Regions from separate parts of the Homo sapiens genome. Here regions 1 and 3 are each linked to region 2. The links are contacts of gene promoters, found by promoter capture Hi-C in blood cells and fetal thymus (Javierre and others, 2016). All regions are on one chromosome and are shown on one strand. The core of a region is centred on a gene start or on the middle of the fragment in contact, and the rest is flanking DNA. Distances in the headings are between cores, read along the strand shown.

Region 1 (3,852 bases), core at 179-2,678, 2.1 Mb after region 2:
CCAAAATGAAAGTGAAAGTTAACATCATTGTAGCCAATCTTTACATGAGAGTAAAAATGGTTAAATTCTTGTAATAGAAAATTAAAATGGGGCTGGGCACGGTGGCTCACACCTGTAATCCCAGCACTTTGGGAGGCCGAGGCAGGCGGATCACGAGGTCAGGAGATCGAGACCATCCTGGCTAACAGGATGAAACCCCGTCTCTACTAAAAATACAAAAAAATTAGCCAGGTATTGTGGCGGACGCCTGCAGTCCCAGCTACTAGGGCGGCTGAGGTAGGAGAATGGCGTGAACCTGGGCGGCAGAGCTTGCAGCGAGCCGAGATCACGCCACTGCACTCCAGCCTGGGCAACAGAGCGAGGCTCTGTCTCAAAAAAAAAAAACAAAAAAAAAATTAAAGTGGGAAATTTGGCTTTTGGGGAGGCACAGTGTGGTTACATCTGCACTGCATCTATGATGTCAAAATCGGTACCTGGTTTAGCATGTGAACAAGGAGTGCTAAAAAAAAAAAAAAAAAAAAAGTTAAGGACCATTGATCCTGTGGAGCATTTCAAAAATTTATTTTTTTATTTATAGCAGGGGGTATGTGTCTTCAGCCTCTTTCTCAAAGTTATTGTGGTTTCCTGCTAGTTTGGGGGTGTTAACAATGCTATTAAGTCTGCCCATGAGTGTACTATTACACTTCTACATGTCTCATAAACAGCATTTTTTTCTTGAGAATATTTTATGTATTTTCCCATATATTTTTTAAAATCTAAATATGTAGTTGTGATTTCTAAGAAGTAAATGCAAATATTAATAATCATATATTAAAATAAGATTAACTTCTAATTTTTACTATTGTTAGACTGATGGTTTAAAATATAGCAACTTAATAAAATGTAAAATCAATAAAATAATATAAGGTGATTTTCAGAAAAACCTTAGCTGTATGTGGAACAAATTATGTAAAAAACCTTAGCTGTATGTGGAACAAATTATGTAATTGCATCACCACATTGCTCTATACCCAGCAGGAGGACTTATATAGACTGCACCATCTGATCTTCCTTGCACTTTTACTTCCAGTTGGTTTCATTCAATGACAGGGACCAGGTAGATATCAGAGAGCAGAAGTGGAGAGAGACACACAGACAGAGAGACAAACAGATAGATGTGTGTCTCTAACCCTACTACCACTGCTGGCAAGTTTTGATATTGAGTACATTGAACAATCTTAGCTCTGTTAGTTGGTCCATTTCCTGCTACCTAACTGTCGTCTGGCTGTAACATTGCCATACCTTCACCCCTGCAGGTCTTGAGGGGGTAAAAGCTTTTCACAGTTGCTACCCTGAGCTGCTTCACCATTCTTTGCTGGTTTCCACAATCCTGCCACCCTCCGTAAATGTTCTCTTCATTAAAATGTCTCCCATCACTTCTGTGAGAAAGCCTTATGTTTCCTGCCCTGACCTTGACTGATACAGGCTCCAACTTTGGTTCTTCTTCAGTTGTACTCATAAAGGGAAACAGTATAGCTCATGAACTCTACCATGACGGTCCCTACAAAGCTTTTCATAATCATTTACTACTCGTATTATTTTATAATTTCAGTTCAATTCAAACTTCCTTTGGGTGGTTTTCAATAAACCAACCACTAAGCAAATACTAGGATGATAAAGAGGAAGATAAGACAGAGTACGTTCCTCAAGAAGCTTGGTTTTTTCAGCAGACAATTCATAAACACTTGAAAAAGTTAAACAAGCTTATGTATGACAAAACGTTACAAATGAACACTAACAGACCATAAATATAATTTGAAACTAGAGAAGAAAACAATGACATAGTCTAACAGGAAAGGCTTTGTTGAGGAGGTGGGACTTTAATTGGATCTTGGGGGATAGAGATTCTTCAGTGTGATTCCACCATTGAATATTTCTTATCTTTTTTGTCACACAAAGAGTAATGTTTTTTTTCATTTAGATCCCTCTTTCAATGTCCTAGAGCCATTTATGGGCCACTTGAAATAGTGTCTACACATGACAGATAAATTGTTTTTCTTGCCTGACCTACCCTGAGTCAGGATAGGCTTTGAGAAGCGTAACAATTCCTTTGCTTATCCATCTGATGCACATTGTGCCACACTGTGTCAGGTATCAGGAAGATTTGCATGAGAAGGAGTCCAGAGAAGTTCTAGATGATCACTTTTGGATTTGCCAAAAGTGACCCAAAAAGACTCCATGGGGCAAGCAATAACCCAGGCTCTGAGGTCGCTGGATCTGTATCTAATTTCCAACTCCTCCAGCTACTGGTCATGTGATCTTGAGAAAATTACTTAATCTTTGTTGTCTCAGTTTCCTCTTTTATAAAATTGTGGTTTGCATGTCTTCTCAGCTTGTATCAAGAGAATTTGCTAAGCATATACAATAGCAAAGTCATAATTTGTGACATATTTTAGATCAACTAGCAAGCCTCAAAACAATTTCACTTTAACATTCATTTTATAAGTATTTCAGGATAATTTTTCATATAGAAAAGCAAAGCTTCACTGAAACATAGTCTTTTGGTGAGTCATACCTTAAATTTTAGGTTTATGTAAAAGGGGTATAATAATTGAGCTTTTGTCAATCCTTTTAATCTTTTAAATTTGTATTCCCTTGCGTAATGGCCTCAAACGACTTTTTAGTTAATAAATAAGCAATTGTGGTTTCAAAATACCAGTTGAATTCAGAGGCATAATTAATTACTGAAATTGAAAAAGAGTCCGTTAAATTACTAATTACAATGTAGAAATAGTCCTTAAGTCATGAATTCTGATTTTTTTAAAATTTCATTTATATTCCCTCTCTTTCATTTAATATTCTTCTCAAAAACAGCTTCTACTTTAAAAACAAAACAGTTTTAGATATGAAGGCCATATTTACGGAACCCAAATTAATGAGGAATTTCCATAACCTAAGATGGCATGGTCATTAAGAATAAAACCCCTAAAATTTTTACCTTGTGCCTGACCACAGAAAGTGATGTAAAGTACAATTATAGCCAGAAGAATTCTCCAACCCAAATGTGCTTGTTAAGTTTGTTTATCCAGTTGCACCACATGCCACACAGCTGTGAACTATTTAGAGGTTTACTAGACACTCCTGTCTAGGAATTGTTTCTTTCTTTCTGATTTTCTGCCTCATATCACACCGGGGACAATTTAATGTGACTACATTAAGTGTTTTCTGAACTGCTGCTATTTCTAAATAGTTCTGATGTCTCTGGGGCATACTTTCCTCAAAAGCCAGATTTTCTTAAGACTTTGCTTCAATTAATTTAGTACATTGAGCGTATAACTTGATATAAACAACAACAAATATTATTTTGTCTGACAAAGTCTAGGTTCTCAGGCTGAAACAGGGAGCAAGGCACACAGATGACTCTTTTCATGGGGAGTACATTATGGCGGGGAAGACCTAGAAGCAATAAATAAACAAACAATTAAGAAAAAAATATTCCAGAAAGACATGATATGGAAATAAGAGTTGGCTGGGCAACTACTTTCCTGGAAGATCTTTTACAAGTCTACTCTCTGAGGAAGCTAGAAGAGCATAATTCTCATCAAGAGGTAGCAAATCCCTATCATGCCTCCTTTTGCCTGCTGGAACTTTAGAGGGAGAAAGAGGAACAGGCATGACTGAAGACAATAAGTAAAAGAGCCAACAAGAAGGAATACAGAGCCAAACGTGGCCAGATGAACATGTGCCCACGGGAATATGTGGGCATACTGAGTGGCCAGCGCCACCACAGAGGCTCTAAGCCTATCAAGCTAAAGTCACGTACCTCAAGCCCTCTTCTTTACAGATGGCATCTAAAGAATGACAAGACTCACC
Region 2 (4,105 bases), core at 1,440-3,939:
CAATGTCCAAAATAGGCAAATCCATAGAGACATAAAGTAAATTAGTGGTTGTCAAATATGGGGAAGGGGGAATAGTAACAAAAGCTACCAGGTACAAGGTTCTTTTTAGGGTAATAACGTTCTTGGATTAGTGCCGACATTTGCATAATTTTGTGAATATATTAAAACTACTGAATTGCATACTTTAAAAAAGTGAATTCTATGGCATATGAATTATATCTCAAAGAAAACTATTATAAAAATTTAAGTCTCTGCTTTTTTTTCTTTTGAGACAAAGTCTGGCTGTCACCCAGGATGGAATGCAGTGGTCCAATCATGGCTCACTTCTCTGCTTGCTACTTTTTATTAGTAAATATTCTACTTTCCTCAAGAGGTTGCTCATGTTGCTTGTAACAGCTTTAAAAGATCTTTGAAGTTAGCTACTATACAGATGAATGGTATTTTTAGTAAAGTAAAACTACTATAACAGAGAAACTTTCTAAAAATCGGATTAGTTTGGTACAATTTCATTTTTTCAAAAGAAATGTCATTAATACCAAGTTCATTTTTAGAGAGTGGAAAAGCTTCAACAAGTCCTTATAAAAATACATTTTTTAAAAAGGTCAAAATGCAATACTTTGTTTTCTTAATTATTGGACATTTCATTTTCAGATATATCATTAGTAGATTACCTGTTTAAAATGTCATTAAATGCCTAGCAATGAATTAAAACCCAAGTAGATGCAACTTTGTGACCTCTACTTACAACTTTCTACATTCTGCATTCTGTTGTCAGATTCCTAGTCCATCACTAGCTCCTAATCTCTTACATCAATTATTCCATTCAATTCTTATTCACAGGGGCTAAAATGTTTGGTAAATGCAATCAATTCATTTTTCTAATGCTGGGGAAAAACTAGAGTGGGCCCAATTTTTAAGGTTAAATTTAGTCCAGAATGTTTGAATAAATATTCAACAAAACGATTTCCTGGAATTTGGAACATAAAAACAGCCTATAGAGTTGTGAAATGCTTTCTAGGTCCTTGGGGAATTTTTTCACGTATTTAGTCATGGGGCAAAGTATTACGTATAAAAGCTTCCTGGTCCTAGAACAAAGACGTATTTTACTGCTCAAAGCTAAAGGAATTAGTATTGTTAAACTAAAATAGCATACCAATGAAACCAGCTAGGTATTGGCATAACTTAACCAAGGTATGTAACCAAAGATAAATTGTACCTTATTATGCATTCTTCCTTGGGAGGAAAAATTCTCACATTAATAAGATTTAGCCAGCCAAAACAGAAAAAGTATATAGATATATGTGTGTCTGTGTATGTAGGTATGTATAAGGATTAGGATTTTGAGTGGCAATTTAAATTTGACGGTTTGCCAAGCTATGCTGGGATACATAGTGGGCATGCTTGACACAAGCAAAACGTGAAGTAAGAGACGACCTGTCAAACAGCTGCTATCTAGTTACTCCCTCGGCAGCACTCCCAACTTCTCCCGCGATGTCTGTGTGTAAGAGAAAGATGTCAAAGCACCAAGAAAACCACGGGGGCTGTCAGAGCAACAGCCAAGTCCAAACCGTGCATCCCAGGGTGAAATCCCACCCGTACCCTCAAGAGCTGGTCAGACTGCGGCTCTTTTCTAATATGAGTCTACCTAAAATAGAAAAATAAACACAACCACAGACCCTGGCCAACCCTCTCTCTCCTCCCCTTTGTGACTCTCCCAAACGCTGGAGGGATGTTAACCTCTGGCAGGCCCGTGGAAGCCAAGCCCCGCGACCTGAGGAGGCGTCCAGGAGCCTCGGCGCAGCCCTGGGGCCTCGAGCCCGTGTCCTCCACCCACCCGACAGGGCCGGTCACCGGTCACACAAAGGAGCCAGTCGCGGGCGCTGGACGCGGGACTCGCCCGAGAGCAGGGAGCCACATCTGGTTCCTGCACGCTGGCAAAAGAGACCCGCTGGAAAATAAGGACTAACGCCCAAACCTGTTGCACAATTCGGGTCCCTTTCACCCAGAAATGAACAAGGGCGCTCAGGAACGGAAAAGCGCGCGGCCCGGTCTCTGCGGGCCGCGGCCGCACCCGGCAGACGGCGCGGAGGCAAAGGCGGCCCGCAGGGCTCCCACCTCCGGCGCTTTGTCTGTGGCGGCAAGGCGGTGGGGGCGGTCGGGGCGTTGGGAGCAGAGGCGGTGGCGGGGCGGGGGCGCCCCTCCTTCACTGCGTAGCCCCTCCGCCCCGCGGCCCGCGCAGGGGAAGAAAGCCGGGCCCGCTACCGCCGCCGCCGCCGACTGCACCGGCCCAAGCCGGCCACCCGGCCGCGGGGCCTGCGCGCTTCTCCCGCCCGGGCCGAGCGGCGGCCACACTCACCTGGCTGGCGCTGACGCTAGCGGCCGGCGGCTCCGGGGCGTTGGGGAAGACAGGGGAACGCTAGCGAGGTGCGGGCGGAGGCGGAGGGCGCGGCGGGAGGAAGGCGGGCTGGGGGCGGAGCGGGCCCGGGCGGCGGCGGCAGCAGCGGCGACGGCTGCGGCTCCAGTCACTCGCGGCAAATCGCGTCCCGGCCCCTCCGTGCGTCAGGCGGGGAGCGGGGGTGCGGGTGGCCCGGCGACCTCTCGGCACCCGCGGCCCGAGCCGCGTCCGCGCGACCCCGCGCGCGCCCGGGTGACGGCGGTACAGCAACCCGCCCGGCGCGGGAAGGAGGAAGGAGGCGGGGCGGGGCGGGGCGTCCAACCGGGCCTGGGGCTGAGGGCTGGGCGCGAGTGGGACTCTGGCGCTCCGGACGGACCCTGCCGTCCCCACCCCTAGCCGAGGCCCAGGCTCCCCAGGCGGGAGGCAGTCTTGGAGAGTGGAAGGGTACCTAGATCTGGAGTCAGAAGTCTGGGCTTAAGAGAGGGTCCGTTACTTGACACCCTGGCAGGTCATTTATTTCCTCTGGCCTCATGCTGGAGTTCGAAGGTTCGAGTACAAAGTCTCCAAGAGCTGCTCCCAAGTACTCACTGCCAAGCGGTGGTGTGGCTGAAGGATGAAGGCAGATGAAAGGGAAAGGGTTGCGGTGAGGAAGGGCTGGATTCAGGGCATTTGTTTTGCTTTGAGGATCTTTCCACTGGACAGTCCAAAATTAATCCACAATGGGGCTCCCTGATAATGGCTACTTCCCCATTTTTACCAACCTAGTTATTTTTCTCCAAGTATACTGACTTAAGAGTCCTTGTTTTCATTTTATTGCGCAAATCATTTGTATGTCATTTCCTGAATTCAGTTCAAAAGAGTCATCAGCAAATTCACACCAGATCAGAGCAGCTGTGTGGTCCCAATTTCAAGACTTCCATATTATTCACTCAGCCACTCACTTCAGTATCACCTAATTCCGTTGATAAAATCTTCCTATTCCAACAACTAAGCAACCAAATTTCTCTCCACTAAAGTTTTCTGACTTAAAATCCCGTGGATTAATTCTTCCTCTTAATTCTGTGAATATCAGTCTGTCTCCATGACTTCCACCTCTTTGCCACTCTAGGTCAAGCCTTTAACTTCACTGCTGCTTCAGTTCCATATAACTGCCAGAGAGAATGCTCCAAAAAGACAGAGCTAAGCATGAAACGTCCCTCTTTAAAATCATTCAAAGTCTCTCCACCTGGTTGAATCAGGTTCAAACTCATTACCATGGTTTACAAAGCCATTTAAAATCTGATCTATTGACCTCCTTGGCTCCAGCTTCAACTCCTAATATATCTACGTATCACACAAATTCAACAGACTTTGTCTTTGTGCCCTTGTAGTTTTCCCCCACCTGAAATCCATCCCTCATTTAACCAGTTGAACTCCTATTGTCCTTCAAGATAATGAAGATAATGCATCCCTTCCTCCTTGGAATCTTCCCTGACATCATCTCCTTTCACCACATCTGTATCCTTACCCCACACATTTACAATGAATTAAATACTCTTTTTCTCTCTGCTTTCATAAAATCGTCTATCTACAGTATTCCCTATGATAATCTTTAATACTTGCTTTTTTCCTGTTGCTTTGCTTGGTGGCCTTTTCTTCCTAGACTGTGTGTTCCTTAAAAGGACAGGGATTTTGTCTAGTTCATTTTTTTTGCTCCCCAGAACATAGCAC
Region 3 (4,234 bases), core at 876-3,375, 2.6 Mb after region 2:
TTGACTCTGGTTGTTTGATTTTTTTTTAAACTATGGTTAATTATTGCCTTTCACAAGAATTCTTTGTTGTTGTCATCTGAAAGTGTATTTAAACAACTGCAAACCTAAATAAAATATAAGCATTATAGAAATAACATGAAGCAAATTTTAAAATAATCAATTTAGGTGTCTCTTTGAAGAACACAGAAAACAGAAACTACCTCAAGAAGACCCATTATCCCTTGTGGGATCAGCATTTAAAAGTGTAAGGGGTGCAAGAATACTGAAGAATGTTCTATCATCTCTCACAATTTACAATCTGGCTAGTAAGCCAAACATACCTTCCAGGGCCAGTCATATTATTTACTCTACAATCCAGTCCCCAAATAAATGACATAGACATGCTGTTGTATATCAGATCCCTGTGGGAGGGGTGTGATCAGGAGTGGTGGAATGGTGGAGTCAAAAAGTTCTGGCTTAGCTAGATTTTGAAAGTCATGAAGGTAGTGGACAGAAAGAACAGGAATGAATTAATTAGCAAAGACAGAGTAGGCAACAGCACTTAGATATGATAGAATTGAAGCTGGGAGCAGCAGAGGAACAGGGTGGATACGTAAGAACCCTGGATAAAACTTTGAAGGCAGCATATTTTGTGGCACTTGACCAGCCCTTTCAATGCTTCTTCTTAGGTACCTTCTTTATTCATTCTCTTTTTCATCTTCCACACAGGCAGCGAGACTCTGACCTATTTTGGAGAGCCATTAAACTGTTAGCTGCATCCTACTACAGGACCCTTGAAGGCTGAGAAAGTCTTATAGGTTCAAAGAAAAGATTTTCTAGTAGTGAAATTTCAAGCCATAGAGATATTAATATCACTGTTCTAACTCCCCTGACATTTGGCAGTACATAGATGAGACTCAGGAGAATATTATGATGGTTCTGGAAAGCTAGTCTGGATTTTGGATTTGATCTTGGGGATATTAGTAAACCATTAGAAGATGTCTTGGAATTGTAAATCTAGAGCAATGCGCTAGAAAGGAGATAGGAAAGAATGAAGGCAGGAAAATCAGTGTGCTATTTTAGTAGTCTATGACTTATGTGTAAATGCCTGGACAAAAACTAGGCACTATTTCATCTCCAGAGCATTCTTCATTCCAAATTCTCCAAAAGTTATGGTTTCCTGTAGCTATCAATGACAATGCACTTAATTACCTTGTAATTCGAATGCTTCCATTAGGAATTTTACTATGCTCTGGATTTTAATTTCAAATGAAAAATAATTCCTTCCTTAAAATATTTTGTCTACGCAAAATATTCTTTTCAATCACGTTAAGATTTTAAAAAGTGTTCTAACTTGTTCTTCAGAGCATAGCCAAGTACAATAAAATATTGGAAGCCTTACTTATATGTATAGTTCAGATGTAACATTTAGGGGAACAATGCTGCTTGATAGGTCTGTCACATTGTGTCTGGTTTTGGATAGAATTTGAGTATTTTTGCTAATGAGAATTTAAACATAACAAAACGGAATGCCAAAGCTGGCTTTAAAAAGTTTTGAACCCTGACATCATTTGTTTCTTGTATCATGCTGTCTCACCAAAATCCAAGCAACTATCTCCACATTGTCCCAATTGTTTCCTCTATTCTCCCTCACCAAAGTCCAACTTCAATGTGAAATTTCCAGATTAAATATCCTTTCACAATTCATTTTCATTCATAACATAAACACGATAAATAACTTTAAGTATGAAAGTAGCACTCCAGGAAGCTTAGTCTTTTGCAGTTTTTACATTTTGGCAACACCAATCAAGCACCTCTTTCCGTCCTTACCCCAATTCCTTGGACACTAAAGAGTCTATATTCAGGCGACTCTTTCAAGTGTATGTTTCAGGGTGCCCAAGCAGACACTTGTTTTCTCGCGGGGGATGTTTTGTGAGACTTGGCCTCCCCACTTACGTTCTATTTTTAGGTGAGGGAGGAGGAGGAGGAGAGGAGGAAAGATTATTAACAAACTAATCTTGCCCATTCCGCGGGCAGTAGTCGGGGGCTGGCCTGCTCCGCGTCGCGCCGGGCGCGCCCCGCCCTACCGCGCCCCGCGCGGCCCCGGCCGGAAGGGGGCGTGGGCCGCCGCCGAGGGAAGGCGCGCAGACGCGCAGCGGCCGGCCTGCTCCGGGCGCGTCAGGCAGGGGGTGGGGAGCAGGGGCCGGGCGGGCGCTCGGCTCCCAGCCGCGCTCCCTCGGGCCACTAGCGCTCCCGCGCGCGCCCGGCCGCCTTCATGTGAAGCGCCGGCCCTCCGCCCCTTCCCTCCCCTTCCTTCCCTCCCTCCCTCCCTGTCCCCTCCTCCTCCTCCTCCTCCTCCGGCGCCCGCTTCAGCTCCCCGGGGCCCCCTGCCCGGCCGGGCGCTGACAGCAAGGGCGGGGGTCCCTGCCGCCGCCTTGTCTCGCGCAGGGTCCGGCTGGGGTAGCGGAGCCCCCAGTGCGGCCATGGACCGGCCCCTGTCGTCGTCGGCGGAGGCGGAGGAGGAACTGGAGTGGCAAGTGGCGAGTCGCAGGAGGAAGGCCTGGGCCAAGTGCCGCAGCTCCTGGCAAGCGTCGGAGACGGAGGATCTGTCCACAGAAGCGACGACGCAGGACGAGGAGGAGGACGAGGAGGAGGACCTCCCCGGCGCGCAGCTGCCGGCAGCGGGGGGAAGAGGTCGGTGCTCCCGGCCGGGCTCCGGGGGGAGGCTGGTGGGCTGGGGAGAGTCTCGTGCGCCCTGGGCGCCTGCCACGAGTTCTGGGAGAGCCTCGGGCACGGTAGGCCGAGGGGAGAGGGGACACTTCCGACCTTCAAACGCGCGCGCTGAACGAGGCGCCCCCAGCGTCAACACAGACAACTGGGTGCCATCCGATTTCCCTGCCAAGGGACACTGAGACGTGTCGCTTAGGCTGCATTTGCCGTGGTAGATTTTCCTACTTGGGAGGGTCCAGGGTGACTCCGCCGTCGTAGTGCTCCTGGGTGGTAACGTGCTGTCCCCTCTCTCTACCCCCAGGAAACGTGCCCAACGAGAAGATCGCGATATGGCTCAAGGACTGCCGGTGAGTGCTCCCTGGTCCGCCCGCGTCCCGGGGGAGATCCGTGCGGACGGGACGCCGGAGCAGAGCCACTCGGGCCGCGTCCCTGTGGGTCCCGCGACCGTTGTAAGCTACAAACCGGAAAGTGAGCCGGCGGATAGCTTCCTCCTCTAAGCGATTAGAAATGGAAGTGCTGTGACCGCTGATTATTTGGTGACCGTGTTGACTTTACAGTTAGGACTTGAGCTACTCACGCATCGTGTTAGCATCAGAGATCAGAAATCCAGAACAGATAATCATGCCATATTTGTTCTGTTTTTATTTGAAAGAATTCTCACATCTCGAACAGGATATTTTGTTTTGCTTTAGTTTTGGCATCTGTACAACTGGCACGGAATCATTTTCCTTTCAAATGTGTTTTAGACGAGTTTAATTTACCTAACTACACTAAATGGGCTTTAATTTTGTTTCTGTTTGGGGAGCTATTAAAACTAGCTAACTTTGTACTTATAGTTTACTTCTTGAACATGGAATTGTCAGATGGCACTGGAATTCTCAGGGAATAGAACTTTTAAAAGCATTCAGACTGCATAAATCTGTTTAATTACATGCTTTGGCAACTGGTACAAAAATGTTTGATAAAATACAGAGGAGATGAATCATGTTGCACGTAAATCTGACTACAGCAAAATGTACTTGTTTCTTATTCCACTTTGCTAGTTGTAAAATCAGGAATGTAGCCTTTAAACTTTTGTTGGTGTTTGCTTTCGAGCATATTTTTGCTTTCTCAATTTAGATTTTCTTAATATTTTGTTCAAATATTAGAGTTAGGGTAGTTTGTTTTGTTTTGTTGTGGAAAGTGATTCATATGCCAGTTTGCCTCCTCTAAAGACAGACAAGATATTGGCTACCATGATATTAATGCCTTGTTTTGATGAATCGACTGGAACCTTATTGAACACTCTTTATTACAGAACTCGTACCCTTTATTGGAAGTGTCATAGACCCTTCTGAAATATGATGACATATATGGAATAACTTCTGTTTAAAGATGCACAGAGGCAAATACACTGCTTGAAGTCCTTGGACCCCAGATTTACAATCTAGCTGTAAATCAATCTCCCAGTTTTCAGATAAGCCTTAGATATTAGATACTTCACTCAAAGTATGGATCAAGAAATTGTATTAATGTGCTATTGGTT

Evidence for each region. The method cuts DNA at HindIII sites, captures the fragments that hold promoters and counts their contacts. A CHiCAGO score of 5 or more calls a contact.
Region 1: a fragment that was not itself captured here is called in contact with the fragment with the promoter of SESTD1 in region 2 in 1 of 17 cell types (M0 macrophages); the score reaches 5.1 in M0 macrophages.
Region 3: a contact is called between the fragment with the promoter of ITPRID2 here and the fragment with the promoter of SESTD1 in region 2, in 1 of 17 cell types (total B cells). The highest score is 6.1, in total B cells.

What each region holds. Positions count from the first base shown.
Region 1 is chr2:181,393,775-181,397,626 of GRCh38, forward strand. The region is part of intron 4 of LINC01934 (long intergenic non-protein coding RNA 1934); the gene reads left to right. Among named protein-coding and RNA genes, the nearest start is that of ITGA4, 62 kb to the right of the region's middle. The HindIII fragment of the contact is 235 bases long and covers 1,312-1,546 here.
Region 2 is chr2:179,262,143-179,266,247 of GRCh38, forward strand. It overlaps SESTD1 (SEC14 and spectrin domain containing 1), which reads right to left and starts at 2,690. Exons shown (of 18, transcript NM_178123.5): 1 at 2,357-2,690. RefSeq lists an enhancer at 1,422-1,491 and silencers at 1,820-1,983, 2,092-2,161, 2,172-2,791. The HindIII fragment of the contact is 5,018 bases long and covers 1,074-4,105 here.
Region 3 is chr2:181,889,605-181,893,838 of GRCh38, forward strand. It overlaps ITPRID2 (ITPR interacting domain containing 2), which reads left to right and starts at 2,126. Exons shown (of 18, transcript NM_001130445.3): 1 at 2,126-2,673; 2 at 3,011-3,056. The coding sequence starts at 2,463. RefSeq lists silencers at 2,003-2,332, 2,623-2,762. The HindIII fragment of the contact is 2,528 bases long and covers 1,746-4,234 here.